2 separate regions of the Homo sapiens genome follow, and region 2 is linked to region 1. Evidence: promoter capture Hi-C in 16 types of primary human blood cells and fetal thymus (Javierre and others, 2016). All regions are on one chromosome and are shown on one strand. Each heading gives the region's core, a stretch centred on a gene start or on the middle of the fragment in contact. The rest is flanking DNA. Distances are from core to core; before and after follow the strand shown.

Region 1 (6,502 bases), core at 2,101-4,600:
GAAACGCCGCGCCTACCAGGTTATGCCCGGGAGAAGGAGACAGGTCGGGCTCCAGCCGCTGGGCGCTCCTCACCTCGAAGCGAGGAAAACACCGGGCCACTGAGATCAGGGGAGGTGCGCCCGATACAGGTACCCGGCACGCAGACACGCCCACCCCCAAACACCGAGAAACAAAGACTGCCCCGAGCCACGCACGCCTGCGCGGCCAGCGCTGGGCGCACACCCGCGCCCACACAGCCCGAAGGGCGCCACGCAACCCGCAAGAACACCAGCTCCCCGCGCTCGCAGGCTCTCCGTGCCGGCCCGCAGCGCAGAGCAGTCCCGGCGCCGCTGCCTAGGTGGGCCGGGGAAGGCGCGCCACCGCGCATGGCACCGCGGCTGCCGAGGAACAGAGGGTGCCCTGCGCAGCCCAGCTCGTCCCAACCCCTCCGGTGCCCACTGCTGCGACGCCTCGCAGGCCGTGTCCCAGTGGGCCCTGGGCACAGCGGTCACTCACCTTCCTGCACAGCCTGGAATGGGTTGTTGGCCTCGATGACCTTGATGGAGTAGGTGATCTTCTCGCTCTGCAGGATGTCATCGTTGAGGCTCAGGTCGGATACCGCCAACTGGAACACCCTGTCGTCCTTGGCCGCGTTCTCCTCGAAGATGGCACCTGGAGGAGAGAAGGGATCAAGACCGGACCTGGACAAGAACCCTCTCCCCGCTTCCCTTGGCCCGAGGGTCAAGGCACTCGCAGACCGATGATTGCCGGGTGGTGGGAAGTCTGAACTGGGATTTCAGCTTGGCGGGGTAGATTAAGGCTCTCCGATCTCCACCTGCACAGGAATATGTTCCCCTCCCCCCACCAGCCCTCAGCGCACACGTGCACACAGTTGACATGAGTTACACATGCACATCCCACAGGCTGCCACCAGGTCACACACGTGTCTCACAACCAAGGCACCACATGTCCTAGCCATGCTCCACACAAGGGACTAAGCCAAGCTGGGGTGGCCCCAGGCAGCGCCCAAATGCCTTGACATGGTTCCATAAATCCCATCCCAGGAGCCAGGAAGTTCCCCGGGAGGGTGGTGTCCCCCACCCAAATCCCAGGACAGAATGATGGGTCCTTCTCCATGCACGTCCCCTGCTGAGTGGAGCTGAGCGAAGCAGGTCTACAGTTGGCTTTCCTGCGCAGAGGGGTCTTCCTTAGGCAGGGGCTTCGGATGGCCTGCAGCTTGGATGACTGTGACGCTGCCCGGCCTGGCGCCCTGAGCTCAGCCTCCTACTCTCCATCCTTCCCCACTCCCATTTCCTGTACGTCTGTCGAGGGGAGTGGGGGAAGGGGACTTGTGTCCTAGGCGCCTCCACGTTCAGATCTAGCGGAGCTGGGGGTCCCAGAAGGAGCTGCTCTTGAAGGGCTTTCTAGAACCGCGGACAGCTCCTCCAGGGCGCCCTCCGGCTGGCGCTTTGTGCGCCTAGCACAGCTTCCACGGACCCTGCGCTTCCAGCCGAGATCAGTGCGACCAGCCCGAGCCTAGTCCTGCAACCTGGACAGCTCTGGAGTCAGCCACCCACATCCCGCCTCACCAAGCCTCGAGGGTCCCTGAGGTCCCGGAGCTAGGCCCAGTGATCCCTCGAGCTGGGGGCTGGGTAGGAGGAGGGAGGCCCGGATTCCTCACTACACCCGGAGCCGGCGCCGCAATGCTGACCGCGAGACCCGCACCCCTCCAGGGCGGGAAGCAGGTTTGGTCACGGGCCCCTGAGGAGGAATCGTAGCTCTCCGAGCCCAGGCCTAGTCCTCACCACCCCACTCCACCACCCACCCTCCCGCCTTGTCCCGTCCTCCTCGCCTTCAACACCTCCCAACCCCCAGTTTCCCTGTGCTCGCTGGTCTTTCCCAACTTCCGGAAAGACGACTGCGGAGGGACTCCCCCAAAGCGACCGCTGTCAGCCCCCCAACTCGGCCCAACTTCCCGAGATTCCTCCCGTGTTGCTCCCAACTCCCACCCACTCCCCCTCGGCGCGCCCACTCCCCCTCGGCGCGCCCCCTCCTCCTCTGCGCTTTCATCTTCTCTCCCGGTTCTCTCTCTCTATCCATCTCTTCCCGCTCAGCATCCCCCTACCCCCCGCTGCCCACGCTTCTTCCCTCGGCTCCCACCACCCAGACCGTCTGGGCCCCCAAGACTTGGACCACGCAAAACTCTAGGACTGTCCAGGATGGGGATGCAGTCGCCACAACCAGATACACACGCACTCACACATACACCAAGGGCTACACAGACACACACCGGAGAAGCAGGCAGACACTGTGTCCACTCTAACAGGCTGACAGACAGTCGTGCACGCACCAACACACGCTCAGATGGCCCCACACACCCCAACACCCTCTCACAGTAACACCGACACCGTGCCAGGCGCACACAGCGACACACGCTGACAACACGCACCCACACACATTCACACACGGTTCCGGTCCGGCCTCTTTGATCTTGCCCTGCCAACTTGGCGAGCCCCCCGCTGTACCTCCCCCTGCCCCCCGCTGCTCTGAGCTGCGCAGAAGGGCCCTCCCGACCCGCCGACGGCCCCGCTAAGGGCGCGGGTCTCGACGCGCGTCCATCCCGGTGTTCCCCGAAGCGTCGGCCCTAAGTGTCGGTAGAGGCCGCGGGGCCCCGCGCGGAGATCGGAGCCCCGGGGAGCGGCAAGCAGCCAGCGGGAGCGCGGCGCGGCCGGTGCACAGCTCCTCCGCCGGGCGGCGCGGCGCGGCCCTTCGGGGGAGCACCGCCCGCCGAGCCCCTCGGCCCAGGGAAACGCCAAGTTTGGACGCCGCGCACCCCCTGCCCCGTTGGGGCCCCCGCCCAGCCTCGGCCCGGCCTCCAGCCGCGCTTACCGATGTGGATGATGGAGTCGGCCCGCACCGACACGCACTGGCATATCCAGGGGAGAAGCCACAGCGTCAGCGCTTCCATGTCCCCCGGGCGCGCGGCTCATCCACCCGGGCCCGGGGCGAGGCCGAGGGCAGCGCGAAGCGGGGAGGCGCTGGTCCCGGTGCAGTCCCGGGCCGCTCCCCGGGAGAGCCGAGCCCGCCCGTGCGTCTTCCCCCGCGCGCCCGCCCCTGCGCCCTGCGCCCGCCCCAGCCCAGCCCAGCCCAGCCCAGCGCGGTCGGGCTCCCGCTCCGGCTCCGGTGGCGGCTGCGGCGGTGCTGGCAGCTTGAGCCCAGGCCGGCGCGGCGGGGGCGGCCCGCGGCTGTGGCAGCGGCGCTTCCCGCGGCTAGAGCGGCTTCGGGGGAGGCTGAGGCGGTGGCGGCGGCGGCCGGGCCGGCGTGGCGGCTCTGGGCTGGCTGTGTGTCTGAGCCCCGGCGAGGAGCGAACTGCGGAGGACGCCCCCTCCCCTCCCCCTCCCCCTCAGCTCCGCTCCCCCTCCCCTCCCTGCCCGCCTCCCTCCCCTCCGCCCGCCTCTCTACCACGTGACTGCGGAGCCTCAGCCTCGCCGCGCGGCTCTCGCCCGCTCGCGGCTCGGAGGGGGCGCCGGGTGCTCCACGCTCCCGGCTCGGGGGACGCTCGGAGACCGGCACAGCGGCGGGGACCGGCCTGGGCTGCGGCGCGCCGAGCTCTGACGGTTCGGGCCTCCTTCTCCGGTTCGCCAGGGGCGGGAGAATGGAGGAGGGCCGGCCGCTAACTGCCCTCGAGGGGCTCCCGAAGCGCCCTGGCGACCTCAGCAGCCGCGCGTCTCGGGTCATGTCCCCGGCCGAAACAGACCGTTCCTCGTGGAGTGGGACCTGGGGAGCAAGAAGAGAGACCGGGGCGGGGCGCCGGGCCAGGCCCCAGGACAGCTGGGGAGCCAGAGGGGGCCGGCCGCCGCAAGCATCTCAGAGTAGAGCCCGGGCCGTGGGCTCGAACCCTGGCTGGCCGCGCGGACCTCGGCGGGCGCCCATCCCCCGCTCCATGGGCAGCGCGCTCAGCCGGGAGTCGGGCAAGAGGCTCGGACTCTGAAGCCCAATTCATGGCCGGAAACCAGCGCAGCCGTGACCGCGGCGCCTGGACGTGAGGAGCCTTCCAAGCGGCCGGCGGGCTCAGACTCCGACCCTGCACGGAGCTTTCATGTGCGAGCCCGGGCGAAGAGCCCGCTCCTCGCGGCCACAGCGGAACAGGGCTCCCTCCGCCTCCGGTGCCTGCCTCGGGCCGGCCACCACCAAAGAGAGCGTTAAGCTGTTGTGGGCTCGTGCCTGAAAGGGACTGGGCTCCATGTGGCACCCCCAAGATTTCGAGGAGACAGCTGAGCTTCCTGGGGTCTGGGACCTGGCAGAGCCTCGTTCAAAAGCTGCTCCTCCAGCAAGCCTGGGAACGTCCCCGGGCCCTGTTGTCCGCGGAGGGGCCCCAGGACTCCCGCCACGCACCAGGGGGAGAGGCTCCCACCACAGCCCTTGCCCAGAGCTCCCAGCGCAGTGGGCGAGGCAGACACCCAACCAAGTCATCTTTTAAATGTTGGGGGGGGCTATGAATGAGCTGTGTATGCTCAGATGCCTGGGCTCTGAACCAGCCTGGGAAGAAGAGCAGGGATGACTTCCTGGAGGAGATGACAGTTGTAAAGACTGAGTGGAGGTTCCCAAGGGAGAAAATAAGGCTTCCAGGCATTGAATAGTGGTGAGCCAAGGCAAAAAGAAAGAAGTGTGTGTCTGTATGTCTGTCTGTCTCTCATGTGGCCAGAGCCAAAGAGTAAGCATTGGTAGATTTCACTTTGGAAAGAAAGATTGGAGAGGATGGGCTGTGCAGAGGGGGCCAGTGGAGGCCCATAGCACTGTGAGGGAACCCTGGGTGGGCCAGCTCAGCTGGGCAGGGACAGCCTGTTGGAGCGGAGAAGCTGGATTGCAGAAGTATCAAGGAATCCCATGAGCCAGCAAGGTGACTTCTAGGTTAAGGAGGCCAGGGGGCAAGAAGAGAGGAGTGGTCATATGTCATACTTGCCCATGGGAGTGGCTGAATGTGGTCCTACACACACACACACACACACACACACACACACACACACTTCTTCCAAAAACCTGTCTTAGGGTCCTTGAGTAGTGAAACCTGACCCACCCCGCATCTCAAAACCCTCTACACCTCTAATTCTTATTCCTGCAAAATTCTACCATTCACTGGCTGAAATGCTGTAGGGAGAAGAGAAATAAATGATGAGTTTTATTATACATCAGTTTGGTTCCTACGGGGACTGTCTCCACCTTGAAAGGATGGTGGGTGTGGTCTTGACCTGAAGTCCCTGTGGGTCAGGGACTCTCCCCGGGCCTCCTGTTGTTGGGGGTTCTCCAGTGTGTTAGTACAGTGGGCATGTGATATACCCAGTTAGAAGTTTTTCTTTGATGTATGTTTTGCTAGGTGTAGGTAGCATGATTTCAGTGGGATAAGTATTAAGACCTCCTTCCAAGTATTAAGAAGACAACCCACCAACACATAGTTGTGGAATGATTTCCATCAAGTTCCAGTTTGGATGATGAGGTGGGTGATGAGGTTCCTGTGGCTTGGCATCTGAGGATCATGACTCAAGGTGGATCTCATCTGGAAGTTGTTGACCTGGGGCAACCTCACCTTCTGTCCTGGGTGCCTCCTTCCTCTCCAGCTTCCAGGGCGTGTGGTAGTCTGCCATCCCCATATGCTCATTCCCAGATCCTCACCCTGGGACAGTCCACTCAGCCAAGCCAGTTTTCCTATCCAGGCTAGAATCCCCTGGACACTGTAGGCAGCGTGGTGACTGTAGGCACTTGCTCAGCTCCTGTTCCTCACAGAGCTGGAAGGCAGGCCCAGAGACCACTGGGGACCTGTACAGACTCACCTTGAGGCAAAATGTGTTTAATCCTCTGCCACCTAAAGTTGGAGTTGCCAGGTTCCAGGGGCATTGGATGTTATTGGTCAGTTGCTCAGACTCATCAAGCCCTTAACAGTTTATTGCTCCTGGCCCAGCTATTCTTGGCCCAACACCCTTATCCCTGATAGCCTCTGGGGCTGCAAATGCTGCCTCTCCAAACCAGGGGAAGCAACTCTACCCAATGAACAAGTTCACCCCTAATGCAAGAATCTAGCTGGAGAAGATAGATTAGAAATCTCTGGGTCATATGACACACATCCACTTCAGAGAGAGAAAAACTGAGGCCCAGAGAAAGGCATCAGGTGAGTTGCTGGCAGGCCCAAGGCTCAGTCCTCTTGGTTTGCTCCTCACTACACAAAGGTGTATTCACAGAAATTAAAACTGAGTCAGTAAATCTTTCTTTTACACAAGCTCAGCCAGCACAGGTGACTGCTTTTTCTAAAGAGTTCTTCAGTTTTACTGATTCTAATTACTTTTCTTTAGCACTTACCACATGCAGGCACTGTGCTCACCACCTGACATCTTACCGAGGAGATGGTCATCCCATTTTACACACAAGGAAATTGAAGGAGGGTGCAAAAAGATAAAACTGGGCTCATCAGGAATCTCAACTGAAACAACACTGGACGCTAGTAGTTGGCCACAGAAGCTGTAGATGAAA
Region 2 (6,502 bases), core at 1,315-3,814, 260 kb before region 1:
AGACAGTAATGTAACCAACACCATAATCAAGATACGGAACAGCTCCATTGCCCACAGCAATTCCTTATGGCTCTTTGTAGTGAATCCTCCTATCCCTAGGCCTGGAAAACACCAATGAGTTTTCTGCCCCTATAGTTTTGCCAATCAGGAACATCACATAATTGAAATTATGGAGTATGAGGCCTCTTGAGTGCAGCTTCTGTCACTCAGCATATGCTTTTGAGAATTATCTCATGTTGCTGTATGTAACAGGAGTTTGTTCCTGGTTTGTTTTTCATTATTCCTTTTTTTTTTTTTTTTTGAGACAGAGTCTCACTCTGCTCTGTTACCCAGGCTAGAGTGCAGTGTGGTGCAATCATAGCTCACTGCAGCCTCAATCTCCTTGGCTCAAGAGATCCTCCCACCTAAGCCTTCTGAGTGGCTGGGACTACATGGCATGCACTATGCCTGGCTTGGCTAATTTTATTTTATTTATTTATTTTTTTGTAGAGACAGAGTCTCATTATGGGGCTCAGGCTGGTCTCAAACTCCCTTTTTAATGCTGAATAATATTCCATTGTATGGCTGTACCACAGTTTGTTATCCATTCACCAGCTGAAGGACATTGGGATGGTTTCCAGTTTGCGGTTATTACAACAAAGCCGCTATAAGCATTCACAAAGAGCAAACCAGGATGATTCTGAGAACGAATATTTCTTCTGGAACAAAAGGCATAAGTGGGGACCATCCCTCATAGACCAGGAAGTGTGTTCGCCCTGCTTTGTCCACACAGGGACTCCAGCTATAACCCCAGTGAGACAGGAAGACTCTGAGCAGGGTAATGACATGATCAGCTAGAATTTTAACAGGCCACTCTGGCTGCCTCAGAATGACAAGCTGCATGGAGCAAGGTGAGAAGCAGGAAGGCAGGTCAGGAGGCTGATGCCAGCAATGGCTTAGACCAGGGACATAGCCATTGGGGTGGTGAGAAGTAATCAGAATCCAGACACATGGTGTCAGAACTGCTAATGGACTAATTATGAGGGGCATGAGGAAGAAGCAGCAAAGACAGCATCAAGATGTTGGGCCTGGGCAGCTGAAGAAAGGGTCACAGGCCCATTTCACAGAGATGGCTTAGTGTGGACAAGGCATTACCCCATGCCCACTCATTGACAGGGAAAACTGGGGCTGGTGTTCCAGAGCCCTGCCCGGCGCTGCCACACCATTTGCTTTATGTTAAACAGAGAATAATCATTCTTCCTCTAAGGAGGAATGCAGGCCTGATCCCCACAACATAAATGTGCCCAGTCCTGGAAAGGCCCTACCTGGGAGCAGTGCCAAGAGGCCCAGGGGACGGGAGCCAGGCCTCCCCAGCCATGTGGAACCGTGAATCTATTAAACCTCTTTTTCTGTTCAAAACCAGACTGCGAGGCCTATGGAAGGGCAGGTGATATGGTTTGGCTGTGTCTCCACCCACATCTCATCTTGAATTGTAGTGCCCATATTCCCCACATGTCATGGGAGGCACCCAGTGGGAGGTAATTGAATCATGAGGGCAGGTTTTTCCCAAGTTGTTCTTGTGATAGTGAATAAGTCTCATGAGAACTGACAGTTTTATAAAAGAACAATTCCCCTGCAGACGTTCTGTTGCCTGCTGCCATGTAAGACATGCCTTTGCTGCTCCTTCACCTTCTGCCATGATTGTGAGGCCTCCCTAGCCATGTGGAACTGTGAATCCATTTAACCTCTTTTTCTTTATAAATTACCCAGTCTCAGGTATTTCTTCATAGCAGTATGAAATGGGCTAATACAGCAGGAAAGCAAGAGGACAAAGTCAGCATGGGCAAGCAGAAGGGGCTGGCAGCTATGACCACACCCCTCACTGGTCAGCCCACTAAGCCCCTGTGTGCAACAGAGGTGGAGCCAGGATAGAGGACAGCACCAGAGTCGGCTGCCACTCTGCCACCTGAGGCTGACCTCCTGGGGCCAGAGACCAGAGCTGGCCATCAATTCCCTATAGGGCCCAGGTGGGGAATTCTGAGGCCCTCAGTCATTCCCTGTGAGCCTGTGATGAGGCCCGCAGTTCCCTGCCACCCTCTCAGCCTCAGCTTAGTGCCCAGGGCTAGATTCACATTATGCCATGTAAGGAGGCTCAACTGCACCCCCAGGCCACAGGCCTAGGCTCCCCCAAGCAAGCGTCAGCCATGGGAGCTGGAGCCCATGTGGACAAGCAGTGAAACTGCAGACAGGCCCCGGAGGAAGAGGACTCCCGATGCTGCTTATGTAATGCCTTCTTAGGGGACAGGAACAGGCTCCCCTTCATTCCACAGCATCTCACGTTCTGCTCCAGCCATGGCTCTTAAACGTTTGCCACAGTGGGGGGCCCTTAGGAAAGGTGTGTGCCTTGTACCTCAAGGGTAGCAAGGACAGAGGGTAAGGCCACCCTGGGACACTGCCCACCTCCCCTGGCCCAACCATGTCACGAGAGAGAGAGAGAATCATTACTAACCACTGTTGGGCTGAACCCTGCACATGGGGCAATCAATCAGTCATCCAGTGACAGATGCTGGGCACAGCCCTCATGGTGTTGCCTCCCAATCTCATTCATCACAACTGTTCCTCCTGGCCTCAGGAGGACAGCTCCCCCTGCCGCACTTCCCTCATAAGCATGGCTCTCTGATGTGGCCTTCAGACTCTCTTCAGCTACACACATGTGTAAGGGTGCACATGTGCATACTTGTTCCAGTCTGGCAGAGAGGTAGGTGCCTTATCCCACGGGGTAGGCACCACTCCACTCTCTGCCCACCCTGTTCTTTAACAAGAACAGGCTTGGAGACATACGGACCAGGGTTCAAATCCAAACCTGGCAGGTAGAAGGGGCTAGTTCCTCTTGCAAAGCTGCTGGCCAGCCCAGCTCAGAGCTCAGGGTGCAGTTGGGACCCCAGACCCAACCACGCCTGCTCTGTGAAGTTCCCTCCAACTCTGGAAGCCAGGCCTCAGCAGGTGCAGGGGTGGCCAGACACCCACGAGAAGGCCCGGCACAGGCATCCCACACCTGTTTCCTCCAACCCACGAGGGGCACAACTCACACCCACTTGCTTAGCCAGGGCATAGGATTCCCTCCCAGGGTAAAGGTCCCTGCTGCAAGGATGGCCCAGACAGGTGCATGCCCACCATGCTCAGTGCTTCACAAGGCCCCCAGCCCTAGCTGGCAGCAGACAGGCAGCATGACACAAAGGGAGCACCAGCTCCTCTGCGGCCAGAGAACATTTCCATGCCATACATCAGGGGCAATCCTCGGCAGACTGAATGCCCAGAGTCATTCCTGCCTTGTTCCATAGGGCCTGGCCCAGCTGCCCCACCCTCCAGGCCCTCAGGACCACAGGGCTCTGCCTCTGTCCCTTCAATGTTGGACACAAACCCACACCCTAGCATGCACCATGGTCAGGTCCAGCTGAATTCAGCCTGGTATCTTATTCCCAGGACCCGGCCTGAGACAGTGCACTGGACCTTCATGCATGGCCGATGAAGTGCCTAGGGTGTGCGACAGCGGACAGGGGGGCAAAAGGTACAGCATTGAGAGCAGGAAGCCAGTGAAGCCTGCAGCAGGTGACAAGGCTGTGACAGGCCTCGTGCCCCCATGTGCCTCCACTTGCTGTGGAGATTAATTCACCTGACAAATCAATCCTACCCACTTCTGACTTCATTACATAGTCACATAATTACACACAAGTTTGGGATTTTTAAGGAAGTGATTTACGGTGGCTCTGAAGATCTGGACAGGGTTAGTGCCATCCTCTTTCCCAGGAAGTTGGAGAAGCACTTTTCAATTTAACGAGCCATGTTTTCTCAAGAACTGTTACCCCAAATACCTGAGGAAAGAGCTGCATGAAATAGGCACTGGGATAGCTTCAGTCTGCCCAAGAAGACAGTGAGGGTGGGCAAGGTTATGCCTGTCCATTAAGGCCTGGAGTGTGCCCACCACAGAGACCAGGAAACTGAGGCCCAGAGGGTGTAGCGCTCTGGCCAAGGTCTCACAGTTGTGGAGCACAGAGCCGGTCAGAAGCATGGTCTGTCTGTTACAGATGCCCTGTTTGATTCTGCACCACGCTATCTCTTCAGAACACACAGCACTGGCTGTTCTTGCCTCCTGTGGCTCTCACACAATTCCCACACTTGAGTCCTAGCCTTCTGAGGCACACATCTAGATTGGGTGGGGAACACGCTCTTCAATGAAAGCAGAGCCCTAGGGGCCAGCTGCCCCTCCCCAGCAGTGTCCGGGGCACACGGAGCCTTCATTCCCCATTCAGCAAGCACTGAAGCCTCTTCTGTGTGCCAAGCACCAGAGCCGGCACTGTGGAGAGAAAGATGCCATCCCCCCTCTCCAGCAAAGGTTGGAATCTAGGGGAGAGATTGACATCAGTCAAATAAGCCTGTGACAGACAGATCATTGCAGAGTGAAGTCTGCACCCTGAGGGAAAAGCACGGGCACTGTGCATGTGTCTAACTGGCCTGGGCACCACAGGTCACCCAGGAATGCTGCCCTGAGGAGCCGCGATGGGGAGAGGAAAATGATGGTAGAGTTAGCATGGTATGCAAGGGGGACAAGAGGATGGGGGCTGCTTCAGGGAGAGGAAGCCTTGTGAGAGAAGATGTTGGAAAGGCCAGTGTTCCCAATTGCAAAGGAGGATGATGATATCCACTGCTCAGCATGGCAGTCAAGACCACGGTCTTGGGGACCATGAGCTCCAGGGTCTGAGAGCTCCCCAAGTGTCTGTCCTTCCCTGACCCTTTGCTCCTGCTCTAGGAAATTTCCTGTCAGCAATAATCCAAATGAGAAAAATCAAACACTGCACATGCAGGTTTACACTGAACACCGTCAAAAAAAAATTGAAGATTGGAAACAGTCACAATGTCCAACAACAGGAAACATTAGGTAGGGTATGCAATAACAATTCTTCATCTCAATGCAATCACTAAAAATGACGATTAGAAAGGCTTTGCAACCACACAGGAAATGTTTATCCCAGGATGTTAGGTCAAAAAAGCAAAACACAAAATCTCATCTAGATTATGGGATGGAGGGAGGGGCCAGCTTCAGGTGTGGGAATACAGGGAGGTTCTGGCTTCAGGTGTGGGGATGGAGGGAGGGGCCTGCTTCAGGTGTGGGGATGGGAGAATGGGCCTGCTTCAGGTGTGGGGATGGGAGAATGGGCCTGCTTCAGGTGTGGGGATAGAGGGAGGAGCCTGCTTCAGGTGCGGGGATGGGAGGAGGGAGCCTTGAGTTCAAGTCAAACATTTCTTCCTGGGCTGCACACTTGGGCCAAGTCATTCACTTCTCTGATTCCTGATCATCAGAGATGATCAGGAATGTGCAGTGAGAAGAGGGGTCTTGGTGAGGTGCACGGGCATGTCTACGGAAGCAAGGGAACGAAGGGCAGGACTGCATGGCCGCTGGCAATGGAGAGTTCCGGGAATGGGCAGGCTCCAGGATGAGGCCGTTGGAGGTGGCGGCTAAGATGGGATAGAGAATGGAGCTGGGGAGGTGAAGGAGCCCAGGGGTGAAGAGGAAAATGAATTGACAACAAGGAGGAGGTGAGGAGAGAGGTGAAGTTCTACGAGAGAGGACTTCTAGATCAGAAGCCTAGATGGGTCTTTGTGGTGACAGAATCCAGACTCCTGTGGAGAGTGAGGGCCAGACCTGCCTACGGAGAACACCAAGTGACACAAATCCTGCATGACAAGTCTAGGAAAAGGAAGCTTTCCCAGTGCAGGCACAGCAGGAAAGCCCAGCCTGGAACCCAGATATTAGGCCTGGTGACAGCTCACTGAGTATTAGCGCTTTGCCTTAGGTGGCACCACGGCACACCTGCATCCTATCCAGGTGCCTTCTTCTCACTGCCCGATAGCTGCTCTGGGAGGGAACCTGGAGCCCTGTGGCCCTGCCCTGGCCCAAACAGCTATTCTGCTGGAGACCTTTGACTGCTGGAGGTGTGCCCTGATAACAATGCACAGCCATGAGGACCGTGATCTGAAGGGCGTCCCTTGGCAGGTACGATGTACAAGCCTCACAAATGTCAGTGGCAAACCCCACAGGGTGGCCCAAACCTTGGCCTAGTTATATTGATACAGGAGGTGGGAAGGGAAGGGCATGGGCCCTTTAAATGATACAGAATGGGGGAAGGGAAGGGTGTGGTCCCTGGCTAGGGCTCCACTCCCTGGCCTGTGCCCATGGACCTAAGTGAAGACAGGCATTTTTGTTTTCCTGCCCAAATGTTGCATTTCCCAAGACCTCCCCTGGCCTGCCATGCCCCTATCCTGTGCCCATAAAAATGCTGAGACCCTAACAGGCAAACACACAGGCAGCTGAATATTGAGAGGAGCTCATCATCGGGGGAACACACAGGTGGCTGGACATCGAGAGGAGCACTTCAGCAGGTACCGGGAGGCCAGCCAGCCACTGACCAGCAGAACAACGCAGAATTTGGCCAGGGCACTCAGAGGAGAACCCAGGCTGCCAAAC

Evidence for each region. Contacts are between HindIII fragments. The CHiCAGO score rates a contact against its expected background, and 5 or more counts as called.
Region 2: a fragment that was not itself captured here is called in contact with the fragment with the promoter of GRID1 in region 1 in 4 of 17 cell types (M0 macrophages, M2 macrophages, M1 macrophages and 1 more); the score reaches 20.7 in M0 macrophages.

Annotation. Positions count from the first base shown.
Region 1 is chr10:86,363,445-86,369,946 of GRCh38, forward strand. It overlaps GRID1 (glutamate ionotropic receptor delta type subunit 1), which reads right to left and starts at 3,351. Exons shown (of 16, transcript NM_017551.3): 1 at 2,870-3,351; 2 at 497-652. The coding sequence starts at 2,948. RefSeq lists an enhancer at 1-459 and silencers at 2,660-2,809, 2,840-3,039, 3,270-3,319, 3,340-3,729, 3,840-4,049. The HindIII fragment of the contact is 11,562 bases long and covers 1-6,502 here.
Region 2 is chr10:86,101,350-86,107,851 of GRCh38, forward strand. The region is part of intron 4 of GRID1 (glutamate ionotropic receptor delta type subunit 1); the gene reads right to left. Among named protein-coding and RNA genes, the nearest start is that of MIR346, 160 kb to the right of the region's middle. RefSeq lists an enhancer at 3,195-3,695. The HindIII fragment of the contact is 6,346 bases long and covers 1-5,737 here.